2 separate regions of the Homo sapiens genome follow, and region 2 is linked to region 1. Evidence: promoter capture Hi-C in human tissues and cell types (Jung and others, 2019). All regions are on one chromosome and are shown on one strand. Each heading gives the region's core, a stretch centred on a gene start or on the middle of the fragment in contact. The rest is flanking DNA. Distances are from core to core; before and after follow the strand shown.

Evidence for each region. The method cuts DNA at HindIII sites, captures the fragments that hold promoters and counts their contacts. A contact is called where the count stands out against the background at its distance.
Region 2: a fragment that was not itself captured here is called in contact with the fragment with the promoter of ZNF853 in region 1 in 2 of the 25 tissues and cell types used here (lymphoblastoid cells and spleen).

The regions. Positions count from the first base shown.
Region 1 is chr7:6,612,947-6,619,353 of GRCh38, reverse strand. It overlaps ZNF853 (zinc finger protein 853), which reads right to left and starts at 3,744. Exons shown (of 3, transcript NM_017560.3): 1 at 3,168-3,744; 2 at 2,047-2,164. The coding sequence starts at 3,179. RefSeq lists enhancers at 4,107-4,860, 4,861-5,614. The HindIII fragment of the contact is 23,550 bases long and covers 1-6,407 here.
Region 2 is chr7:6,717,742-6,724,158 of GRCh38, reverse strand. It overlaps the pseudogene SPDYE20P. Among named protein-coding and RNA genes, the nearest start is that of ZNF12, 14 kb to the right of the region's middle. The HindIII fragment of the contact is 6,899 bases long and covers 1-6,417 here.

The DNA of each region.
Region 1 (6,407 bases), core at 2,495-4,994:
GTTGCAGTGAGCTGAGATCACGCCAGTGCACTCCAGCCCAGCGACAGAGCAAGACTCCTTATCAAAAAAACAAACAAACAAACAAACAAACAAAAACAACAACCCAAGGGACATAGTGAAACCCTGTCTCTACTAAAAATACAAAAATTAGCCGGGCATGGTGGCAGGCACCTATAGTCCCAGCTACTCGGGAGGCTGCAGCAGGAGAACTGCTTGAACCCAGGAGGTGGAGGTTGCAGTGAGTCAAGATTGAGCCACCGCAATCCAGCCTGGGCAACAGAGTGAGACTCTGTCTCAAAAAAAAAAAAAAAAAAAAAAAAATCCACCAAGGGAGATCTGTATGCATATAATTTCCTCTAGTAAAATATTCCTAATAACCTTTGGTTAGGCTAACAGATCCGTGAGCGTGCTTTTCATAGACACTGACATTGGCTGGGGGGAAGCACATGGTAGAAGACAGGGTGAAAACTGTCCCCCCAGCAAGTCCAATGTCTCATGGACCCTCCTTTCTCCCACCTCTTCTGGGAGGAATGAGACAGATCATGCCTCTGTGTTGAGTCTCCTCTTTTCTGGCACAGTCTTGACCACAGGCCACTCTGACTCCCTGGGGCAGCAATTTCAGTTTTTGTTTGTTTGTTTGTTTTAAACAGGATCTCACTCTTGTCACCCAGGCTGGAGTGTAGTGGCGCAATCTCAGCTCACTGTAGCCTCAACCTCTCAAGCTCAAGCGATCCTCCCATCTCAGCCTCTCAAGTGGCTGGGACTATAGGTACACAACACCACGCCTAGCTAATTTTTTAAACTTTTTGTAGAGATGGGGTTTTGCCATGTTTCACAGGCTGGTCTCGAACTCCTGAGCTCAAGCGATCCACCTGCCTCGGTTTCCCAAAGTGCTGGGATTACAGGTGTGAGCCATTGTGCCTGACCTCAGCATTTTTAACAAAGGCATTTTAGTGAACATCTAGTCCAGTGTTGTCTGACGTGTATACCCTCCCAAAGTTTTGTCAGGTAAATTTACAAGTCAGAAGGGTCTTCTTTTCCTCTTCTTCTTTTTTTTGAGACGGACTCTCACTCTGTCACCAAGGCTGGAGTGCAGTGGCATGATCCTGGCTCACTGCAACCTCTGCCTCCTGGGTTCAAGTGATTCTTCTGCCTCAGCCTCCCGAGTAGCTGAGATTACAGGTGCCCACCACACCCAGCTCATTTTTGTATTTGTAGTAAAGACAGTGTTTCACCATGTTGGCCAGGCTGGTCTCAAACTCCTGGCCTCAACTGATCTGCCCGCCTCGGCCTCCCAAAGTGCTGGGATTACAGGAATGAGCCATCATGCTCGGTCAGAACGGTCCTTCTTGACTCCACACATCCCCATCCCACCCCCTCCAATTCCCTTGGTCCTTTTCAAGCTCTGTCCCGCCCTGCCCCAGGCCCTCACTCAGCACCCTTAAAGCACAGAATGGAAACTGGCTCTCATGAGTGTGGCCACCAGAGAAGGTTTGCCCAGAGTGGGTCCCAGAGGAAGAGGTCTTGGAAGGTTCTGCAGTACCACATCTGCCCCTGGGCATCAGGTAGAGAAAAACAGATGCAAGCAGAGGTCAAGCTAAAGTGGAAAAGGTTACGAGGCCACAGGGGAGAAGAAGCCAGGGAGCCAACATCTGGGGCAGGAGGGGCAGAGGAAGAGAGCCTATTAGTACCTGAATCGGATCCGGGAAATTGAGTGGAAATTGACTCAGGAGCTGGGGCCAGGTGGGAGGATGGTGGAGGCCCTCTGGCTGCCAGGAAACACAGCAATGAGTTCCAGCCAGCAGCGCGTGTGAGTGTTAAGTCCAGTCAGCACCCATGTGGGGAGCGGGGAGCCCCTCACCAGCCTGGCCTCAGCCTGCCTGACACAGCCACCTTGGAAAATCTCAAGGGAGAGCTGCTGGTGTTACTCAATGCAGCTGAGGTTGGCTGGTGTGAGTCTGTGCAGGCTGCCCGCCACCCTTGAGCCTCTTTCTGCCACAGCAGGCAGGCATGAGGCTCTGTCAAGGGATCCCCCGAGGCCCTCACCTGAGAGGGTGTCAGGCCCTGGGCCCCCATCCTCAAGACATTGAAGTTCCAGCACGAAGGTCTCGGTGGCTGGCCCCACTTCCATCCTGGCGGTCAGACCCCGATTCCCGGGAGTCGGCTGTGCTGAAAGGAAGGAAGCAGTTTAGCCAGGCTGGAGTGCTTTGACCCCCGCCAGGTGCCCACAGGCCCCCAAAGGCCCTCCACCTCTGCCTCGGGCCACCCAGAGCGGTCAGCTCCATACCTGCTGCAACTATAGGACTGTCCCCCGCAACGGGGAACGGGGAGTGCCGGCGGCCTGGAGGCTCAGGACTGGGGAGTTGGCAGACAGCACCAGAGGCTGTCACCTGCATAGAGGCAGGACTGCCTCTCCTGACTTTTCACAGCGGGATGGAGAGTGGGGTAGCCCCACAGAGACACAACTGTGGGTATCAGCCCTTCACAAGGGAGGAAAGCTAGAGTCACCAAAGGGACATTCAGGGCGGGGAGCTCTGGGGCCAAAGAGAGACTGTCCATCAACATCCTCCCTGCCTCCTTCAATTCTTTTTTTATTAAATACTTTTTTTTTTTTTTCTTGATACGGATTCTCACTCTGTCACCCAGGCTGGAGTGCAGTGGTGCGATCTGGACTCACTGCAACCTCCGTCTCCCCAGTTCAAGCGATTCTCCTGCCTCCGCCTCCTGAGTAGCTGGGGCTACAGGTGCGTGCCATCACCCCCAGCTAATTTTTATGTTTTTTTATATTGTAGATGATGTTGCCCAAGGCTGGTCTCGAACTCCTGGCCTCAGGCGATCCTCCTGCCTCGGCCTCCTAAAGTGTTGGGATTATAGGAGTGAGCCACTGCGCCTGGCGCCCTTCCATTCTATTGCCTTCCTGGCCTGCTCTGAGAAGGCCGCCAGCAGGCCACGTGTGTCAGCTGCCACCCCAGCTCCCGGGCAAGGCAGGTGTCCAGAGCACTGTCACCCACGGCCTGGCCCTGTGCCCAGGCGCTCCTGAGAGTCCACCCTGGCCCGTGCAGAGCTGGCCCCTCTCCCCTAAACAGGCCGACTCGTGCCATCCAGTCCAAACTCTCTCAAGGGACGCGTCCCCGGTTGCCCAGCGCCAACGACCCCCTGGGCCTCACCTGGTGGAGCATTTCCTGCTCCCGGGCAGCCTCTGCGCTAGGGAGGTGTGGTCAGCAGAGGCTGCGAGGTGAAGGCCACGGCGTGCAGCCGGCTCCTTCCGGAGGCGCCTCCATCCAGAAAGAGCCAGGAGGCGCAGGGCCACCCCGGGGGCTTTCTGGGCACTCCGGAGGGTCCACGCCCTCTGGGCTGCCGAGGTCGCCCTGGGCCAAGGGAAGGGGCTGAGAGGAGCGGCCGAGCAGAAGTTGGTGGAGACTCTCCGGCGGGGGCTGGGGCGGGAGGCAGGGCCCCGAATCCCGCGCGGGGCTCAGGGCCGGCCCCCCGGGACCATCGCGGGCAGCGGGATCCAGGCCGGCGCCCGGGGTCGGCACCACGGGGTGGCCCCGCCTGGGGTCGGCGGCGGCCAGGCGACGCGGGTCCTCGGGGGCTACAGGTGCCCGGAGCCTGCGGGCGGCCTGGGCCGGGCCGCGCGGGGGCCGGGGCGGGGGCGGGGCGGGCGCCGCGGCAAGGCCGGGTCCCCCTGGGCTCGCCCGCCCGCCCGGGAGTGCGTCCGTGCGGGCCGCTGGCCGGGCCGGGGGCGGGGGCGCGGGGGCCGGCACAGGAAGTCCCCCCGGCATCCGCATCCTGTCCCCCGCCCCTGCCCGCCCGCCGCGCCCCCGCGCCCCGGCCCCCGCCGCCGCCGCCGCCGTCGCCGCCGCCGCTCTAGGCAGCCGCAGCTCGGTGGGCTTAACCATTCCCGGCCCGGCCACTCACCCGGCCCGGGGGACACGATGCGGCGGCCCCTGGGGCGTCCCGGGCTGGCCGGTGCCGAGCGCAGCGCGCGCTGTGCCGCATCCCTGCTGCGCGTGTCCTCGCGCCACGGGGTTGGCGACTGTCACTGCCTGGGTGTCTGGGTGGGGGGTACCCAACCCGATCCCTGCCACCCCCTAGAGGGCAGGCGTGGCCTCGGGGCGCCCCTGCCGCGGTGCAAATTGTGGCTAATTAGCACACAATTCGATGGCACTCGGAGAGGGAGTAGGCGCCATCCGGGCCCGGCCCGAGCGGGCCCTGGAGAGGCCACCCCGGTCCGCACCGTGGAGCCCTCCTCCTAGACCCCGGGGCTGGGGAGGGCAGGCCAGTAGGGAGTGTGTGCCTCCCTCCCCCGATCAGGGACTGTGACCTGCATAGATCAAATGAGGCCACCGTGGAGAACTGGCAGAGCTGGAATCCTCCCGCCCAGCGCCCCTGCGGCCTTTCGCTGACCACAAGGCTGGTGGTCAGGCCTCCCACCTCCCTCACCCTCTCCTCTCCTCTTTCCCTACTTGGCAAGTGGATTCCTGCCTGGGTCAGGGGTCTTCTCCAAGGGAGGCCTTCCCTAACCCCGTCTTAATGTTGCACCACCTAACTTTCCTGTTCTCGGTGCACAAACCTCTCTAACCTGGAGAATTCAAATTCAAATTGGGATGCTCAAATTCTTTAGAAAAAACCAAAGATCTGGGGGCAGGGCATGGTACTTCACGCCTGTAAACCCAGCATTTCGGGAGGATCACTTGAGGCTGGTAGTTTGAGACCAGCCTAGCCAACATAGCAAGACCCCATCTCTACAAAAGAGGTTTTTAAAAAATTAGCTGGGCTACTGAAAAGTAGCCTGTAATCCCAACTACTTTGGAGGCCAAGGTGGGTGGACCACTTGAGCCCGGGAGGAGGTCGAGGCTGCAGTGAACTATGATCGCGCCACTGCACCCCAGCCTGGGTGATAGAGTGAGACCCTGTCTCCATCTAAAAACAAGCAAACATGCTGGGCGCGGTGGCTCACGCCTATAATCCCAGCACTTTGGGAGGCCGAGGCGGGCAGATCACCTGAGGTCTGGAGTTGGAGACCAGCCTGGCCAACATGGAGAAACTCCATCTCTACTAAAGATACAAAATTGGCCGGGCATGGTGGCACATGCCTGTAACGCCAGCTACTCTGGAGGCTGAGGCAGGAGAATCGCTTGAATCTGGGAGGTGCTCCTGGGGTGCAGCAGGAATGCCCCCCTGGTGGGGGACAAGAGCCCTCAGGGTTCACAGCCCCCTCCCTTCCTCCTGTCCCTGGGCTCACACTGCTGTGGCACAGGTGGCCACCTTGTCCTGTTTTTGGAATCTCTCTGGCCCCCACAGGCACTGGAGTTTCAGGCTTCCTTTCTGGCCCTTGCCTGAAAAGCCTGCACTCTGGTGGCTTCTGCCCCAGGCTAGAAAAAGTGCAGCAAGAGCCTGGCTTTGGAGACAGAGTCATCTAGGGTCATGGGACCTTTTGCAGCCAGGTAACTGCAGGCAAATGACTGCCTTGCGTCTGTGAAGTGGAGATGACAGCCTGCTAGGCAGGATAAGGACGAGCAGATAAGGTGAGGAGGATATGGGCAGGAGTTTAAGATCAGAGCAGGTGTGCACCTGCCTCTTCTAGCCTCCTGCAAACCCTCATGCCCTGAGGAGCCCCTCCCTCCTCAGGTCTTTATCCTCTCCCTCCACTGGCTTCTTTCTGACAGGATTTACACATCCTCAGGGCTCTCCCATCTTAAAAACATGCTACCCGGGCCAGGCGCAGTGGCTTATGCTTGTAATCCCAGCACTTTGGGAGGCCAAGGCAGGAGAATCGTGAGAGCCCTGGCTTTGGAGGCTGCAGTGAGGCATGATCATGCCACTGCACTCCAGCCTTGGCGACAGAGCAAGACTGTCTGCTGGCCGGGCACGGTGGCTCACGCCTGTAATCCTAGCATTTTGGGAGGCTAAGGTGGGCAGATCATGAGGTCAAGAGATAGAGACCATCCTTGCCGACATGGTGAAACCCTGTCTCTAATAAAAATACAAAAAAAAATATATATATATATATATATATATAGTTTGGCGTGGTGGCGCATGCTGTAGTCCCAGCTACTCAGGAGGCTGAGGCAGGAAAATCACTTGAACCCAGGAGGCAGAGGTTGCAGTGAGCCGAGATCACGCCACTGCACTCCAGCCTGGCGACAGTGTGAGACTCCGTCTCAAAAAAAAAAAAAAAAAAAAGACTGTCTGTAAAACATAAAAGAGCTACCCACTTCTCTCTCCTGCCCTTGACAGCCAAACTTCCTTTGCCATATCCCCATCTGCCCATCCCTCCTTCTCCTCTCTGACCTGGCCTCACTGCAGCCAGACAACTCCCCGTGACGTCACCAGCAATGTCCACGTCACTAAACCCTCATCATATTTGGCCTCTGGGCAGCACTGGACACTTCTGCCATGCTGTC
Region 2 (6,417 bases), core at 1,981-4,480, 110 kb before region 1:
GGTCTTGAACTTCTGACCTCTGGTGATCTGTCTGCTTTGGCTTCTTAAAGTGGTAGGATTATAGGCATGAGCCACCGCACCTGCTTCGCCCATTTTTTGACAACGTATCAACATCATTTAAGATGGGCACTGCCTCAGTGTAGTGTGTCTAGACAAGGTGGCCAGAAGAGAGGGGAATATGCAAACCAGGCTTGAAGACGGGTTAAATCAGAGCTTTTCATTCCACAAAAGAGCAATTTTAACGGGGTCAGGACATTGATCTTCTAATATTTGAAAGCCTGTTAACTAGGAGAGAGAGAGCAAACTGTTTGTTGTAGGAGGACCTACCCAGCTCTGACGGTTTAAAGCATCATGAATGCAAATTTGAACTCCAGAAAAGCAGAGTTTCCTAACAATGGGACTTCCACAGCAATGGGATCTGCTTCTTCACTCAGTCTGTGTCTTTCCCATGAGCAAGAGACTCCTAGGAGAGCCACAGCCCATTAGGAAGCCGTGTGGGAACTCACTCACACGTTCTTTGTTTATTTTTTTTGAGACAGAGTTTTGCTCTTGTTGCCCAGGCTGGAGTGCAATGGTGTGATCTTGGCTTGCTGCAACCTCTGCACCCTGAGTTCAAGTGATTCTCCAGCCCTCCCTCCTGAGTAGCTGGGATTACAGGCACCTACCACCATGCCTGGCTAATTTCTTGTATTTTTTGTAGAGATGGGGTTTCACCATGTTGGCCAGGCTGGTCTCAAACTCCTGACCTCAAGTGATCCACCCCCTTTGGCCTCCCAAAGTGCTGGGATTACAGGCATGAGCCACTGAGCCCGGCCAGGAACCCACAGGTTTTTCGGATGGTCTCTGAATGTCATGCAACTCTTTTATTTTGTATCAAAAAAAATTTTTTTGACACAACGTCTTGCTGTGTTGCCCAGACTGGAGTGCAGTGGCCAGATCATAGCTCACTGCAGCTTCTAACTCCTGGGCTCAAGCGATCTTCCTGTCACATGAGTCTCCCAAGTAGGTGGAACACAGGTGCCAGCCACCACACCTGGCTAATTTGGTTTGGTTTTGTTTTTTTAGAGATGGGCTCTTGCTATGTTGCCTACACTGATCTTGAACTGCTGGCCTCAGGCAGTCTTCCTCCCTTGGCCACCCAAAGTTCTGGGATTACAAGCATGAGCCACTGTGCACAGCTGAGATTTTTTGACTTAGCCTTTTTGTACATGCGATATTTTATTCCTAGAATCCATAAATGGTAGGGAAATTTCTGAGTTCAGAGCAATACATATGATACAAAACTTGATATATAGACTAGAGTTTGTTAGCCAAACTGGAGGGGCTGGCTTTAGGTAATCCATGGACTCCCTGAAATTGGGGACACCATTGGAAATATGTGTGAGCTCCTGGACAGTTTCCTATGACTTTCAGGCCTCAAGATGTCTCTGGACTCAAAGATGCCTTAGGGCAGAGGACGCTTGTACCCCCAGTATAGAATCTCGGACAGTGAATGTCAGTAAACATTCGGCAGAAAAGCTCTGCCAAACTGAGTGCTCTGATGTGACATTTTCATCAAGTCAATGTTCCTGGGATCTCTTGTACATGATCATCTCACTCTTGTAAGGTTTCATAGTTTCTGCTTAGCCTAGTTTTCTTTCCCACCCTGTTCCCTCTCCCACCAGACTGGACTCTGAAATGGGCATGTACAGAGAAGAGGAGACCCCACCATGCTTCAGGCTTTGAGTGGAGAGGACACAGCCTCTGCTGGGACAGGGAACAGAGGGATGTGGAGACCCTAAAGATGCTTTTGGACAGTGCCTGAGGTTGGGACAGTGGCAGGAGATACCATTCACCCACGATCTCCAGGACAAAGATCAGCCTGGCAGTTACATGTGTTTTTCTTCAAACTGGTTGCCAGGTTGGAATGACCAATGACATCAGAGATTCCAACCTTCCTGATTGGAAGGACTGGACTCTGTGGGCTCCTGGGAGCTCAGCTGGACAACCTTCTCAGAGCTGGTCTCCACTCCTGACTTCTCCCAGCCTCGAAAATTGACAACACACTCTTCTGGGTCTTAGCAGAGTCCAGAAGAAGGCCTTGGACAGAACAGAGACTAGGTTCCGTGGGATGGGACAGATTTTGGGAAAGATCATAACCAGCCATCAACCGCACCCCCAGGATGAGGAGCAGAGCCCCCAGCCCAGCGCCTCAGGGTACCCCTCCAGGAGGTGGTGGATGATGAAGTGTCGGGACCATCAGGTGAGGGGACTGGAGGAAGAAGAGGTAGGATAGGATTGACTAAGATGAAGGAAGGGGGCCGGGCGCAGTGGCTCATGCCTGTAACCCCAACACTTTGGGAGGCCGAGGTGGGCGGGTCACCTGAGGTCAGGAGTTCAAGACCAGCCTGGCCAACATGGCCAACCCCATCTCTACTAAAAGTACAAAAACTATCTGGGCGTTAGTGGTGCGCACATGTAATCCCAGCTACTCGGGAGGCTGAGACAGGAGAATCGCTTGAGGCTGGGAGGAAGAGGTTGCAGTGAGCCAAGATTGCGCTACTGCACTCCAGTCTGGGTGAGAGAGTGAGACGCTGTCTCAAAAAAAAAAAAAAAAAAAAAAGGTCAGAGGTCAGGAAGAAGAACCTGAGGCGGGTGTGTGGGAAGAATGGAGAAATTCAGATTCAGGCCAGGTGCAGTGGTCACACCTGTAATCCCAGCACTTTGGGAGGCCAAGGCAGGCAGATCACTTGAGGCCAGGAGTTTGAGACCAGCCTGGCCAACATGGTGAAACCCCATCTCTACTAAAAGTACAAAATTGAGTTGGGCATTATCGCAGGCACCTGTAATCCCAGCTACCTGAGAGGCTGAGGCAGGAGAATAAGTGGAATCTGGGAGATGGATGTTGCAGTGAGCTGAGATTGCACCACTACAATCCAGCCCAGGAGACAAGGCATGATTCTGTCTCAAAACAAAAAAAAAAAAAAAGGGAGGGACTCAGAGAGCCAGGGACCAGGGAAGGACATGAGGAAGTGTTGTGAGGACAGAGAGATGGAAGAACGGGGAGGGGAAGGAGCGGCACATGGGGCTCAGCAGAGGAGAAATCCAGAAAGATGGCTTGGAGAAGCCAGCAGTCTGCGAAGCTGGGGAGGATGGAGAGTGGTTTGGGGTTTGGGGTCGGGGTCTAAGGTGGTCAGTTGCAGAAGCATTACACCATGGCCTGGCTTCTTTACTCAGCCCCTGGGGTAGATCCCAGCCCCCCATGTAGGTATTTTTGCTGGAAAAGGAAGAGGGAGTGGTTGGACAAATGTGAGGAGGAGCCAGAGAAGAAGCTCACCCCCGAGCCTGAGGAGACCTGGGTGGTGGAGATGCTGTGTGGGCTCAAGATGAAGCTGAAGCAACAGCGAGTGTCACCTCGTGCTCCCTGAGCACCACGAGGCCTTCAATAATCAGATTGGTAGGAGGACACTCCAGAGAGCACCTCCAATCCTGTTCTTCTAAAAAAGAGGAAACTTCCAATAACCACTATTTTCCAATGGGAAAAATATGCCCCCATTGGGTGAGCTCTCCATGTGGGAGGACTCAGAAGTGATCACTCATGAGGGACGCTTAGGAGACAATAGAGGATTAGGCTAGACTTGACAAAGGTCAGTGCTTGGGATAAGAAAGCTTTGTTTTGGGCCAGGTGAGCTTACGCCTGAGATACCAGCATATTGGGAGGCTGAGGCAAGGGGATTGCTTGAATTCAGGACTTTGAGGCTGCAGTAAACTATGACTGCACCACTGCACTCCAGCCTGGGTGACAGAGCAAAACCCTGTCTCAAAAGAAAAACCAAGGCTGGGCACAGTAGCTCATGCCTGTAATCCCAGCTACTCAGGGGACTGAGAGGAGAATCGCTTAAACCCGGGATGCAGAGGTTGCAGTGAGCCAAGATCACGCCAGTGCATTCCAGCCTGGACCACAAAGCACGACTCTGTCTCAAAATAAATTAATAAATAAAAATAAAAATCAAATAAAGAAAAACAAAATCAATAAACAAAGAAAGTGGTTTCAGCTGTGCTCTCTGAAACTTAATGTCTCTTACTGACTTTTCTAAACCTAAGTGTCTCCATCCATAGTGGGGGATACCAAGGCCATGGTCACACCCTGATGTGACTGTCTCATGAGGAAATGATGGGAATTCCTTTATGACTCTGCAGTGGTCCCTCCGTGTCTGCTGGGAGGGCATCCTGGCTTATTCCCAGCTCTACATCCCGTAGATTCTCACACCCAGGGCCTCCTTCGGCCTCTTCTCAGGGGAGTCTCAGAGCAGGAGCCTCTCTCCTTTGCCCAGTGAAAGTCATTCTCCCCCCTCCCATCCACCTCGCCCATGGCAGCAATCCTGAGACCTCCCCCCCGGGAGGCACACTTCTCGCTGCCCTGCTGCTCCCACAGAAAGCTTCTCATGCTGACATCTGCCCTCTAATAACAGAGGATCCTGTGATTAAAAGATTCCTGGCCTGGGACAAAGATCTGAGGGTGTCAGACAACGTAAGGTTGTTCTCCATGTAACTGTGTTCCTGCTTCAACGCACCACCGGAGGGAGGGCGCAGCTTCCAAACCCACAGTTCTCCCTCCACCACCTCCCACCAGGTGCTCCTACGGTCTTTTTTTTTTTTTTTTTTTTTTTTTTTTTTTTGTGAGACAGAGTCTTCCTCTGTTGCCCAGGCTGGAGGGCAGTGTCTCAATCTTGACTCACTGCAGCCGAAGCCTCCCAGGTTCAAGCGATTCTCCTGTCTCAGCCTCCAAGCAGCTGAGATTACAGATGTGAACCACCACGCCTGGCTAATTTTTGTGTTTTTAGTAGAGACGGGGTTTTGCCATGTTGGGCAAGTTGGTCCTGAACACCTGACCTCAGGTGATCCACCCGCCTTGGCCTCCCAAAGTGCTGAGATTACAGACGTCAGCCACTGTGCCCCACCAGCTCCCACAATCTTGAGTCTTGGCACCCACACTTTTTTCTGAGACAGAGTCTAGCTCTGCTCCCCAAGATGGAGTGCAGTGGCATGATCATAGCTCACTGCAGCCTCTAATTCCTGGGCTCAAGCAATTCTCTTTCCTCAGCCTCCTGAGGAGCTGGGACTAGGCACATGCCACCATGCTCAACTAATTTTTGAAATCTTTGTAGAAACAGGGTCTCGCTACATTGCCCAGGTTGTTCTCAAACTGTTGGGCTCATGTGATCCTCCTGTCTCCACCTCTCAAAGTACTGGGATCACAGGCCTGAGCCGCCACTCCCGGCTATTCTTGGTCTTTTTATGATTTGTCAGCATCTCCCTCAGGACTCTGCTGGTCTCTTGCCGAGTGAATGAATAGCCCCTGCCTCTCCTATGGGTCCTTTAGGATCTGAGCCCTGGTCCACAGTCTGACCGCAGCCCTGAAGCTCCTGGCCCCTCTACTCTCAGCTCTTTGAGACAATTCTCTGCCTGGCACACAAAAGACCCTCCTGACACCAGCTGACCTAGACACGCCCCCACCAAAGATCCCATCGGAGCCCACCATCCTGGGAGCATCACCGACATCCCTTCCTCCCTCGGATTTGCATCCGACCATCGAATACCCCTCCACCCTGCTATTTCCAAATGAGTACAGTCACCCCAACACTGAAGTCCCTTCTCTGATGGGCAGCCCCTCCCCAGACCCTCATTCCCCCTCTCCACAATCTTCCTCTTCCAAGATGTGACCTCTCTGTGTTCCTTTCTCTCCATCAGTATCTCCTGGCTATGGTCAGCGTATTTTAGCCGGGCCAGACCCTTCTCCTGGCAATACCAACGCATCTATTTCTTCCTGGCTCTGTGAGTGGTTTGCTGCCTCCTATCGGTCAATATCCAATGCTCTGGGACAGCAGAGGAAGGTGGGATTCCAGCCTTTCATTTATTCTTTCACCTATTTGTCCACTTTACTCTGTGTACAAAAAAGACAGGATTTTACTATCTTGTTCTTAGACTGTTGTTTCTAAAAAGAAACTCAGGCTGGGAGCGGTGGCTTACGCCTGTAATCCCAGCACTTTGGGAGGGCCAGGCAGGCGGATCATCTGAGGTCAGGAGTTCGAGACCAGCCTGGCCAACATGGCCAAACCCATCTCTATTAAAAATAGAAAAATTAGCCGGGCATGGTGGTGTGCACCTGTAATCCCAGCTACTTGGGAGGCTGAAGCAAGAGAACCCCTTGAACCCAGGAGGTGGAGGTTGCAGTAAGCTAAGGTTGAGCCACTGCACTCCAGCCTGGGTGACAGAGTGAGACTTTTTCTCCAAAAAAAAAAAGCAAAAAAAAACAAACTCCAATGCCAGTGTACAAATAAAAGAATAAAACAAAAGGAAACATAAACTGCTCCTAAGGGGAGAAGAAAAGGAGCGGAGGAGCGGACACGACACTTCCCCCAGCAAGCAGACGTTTCT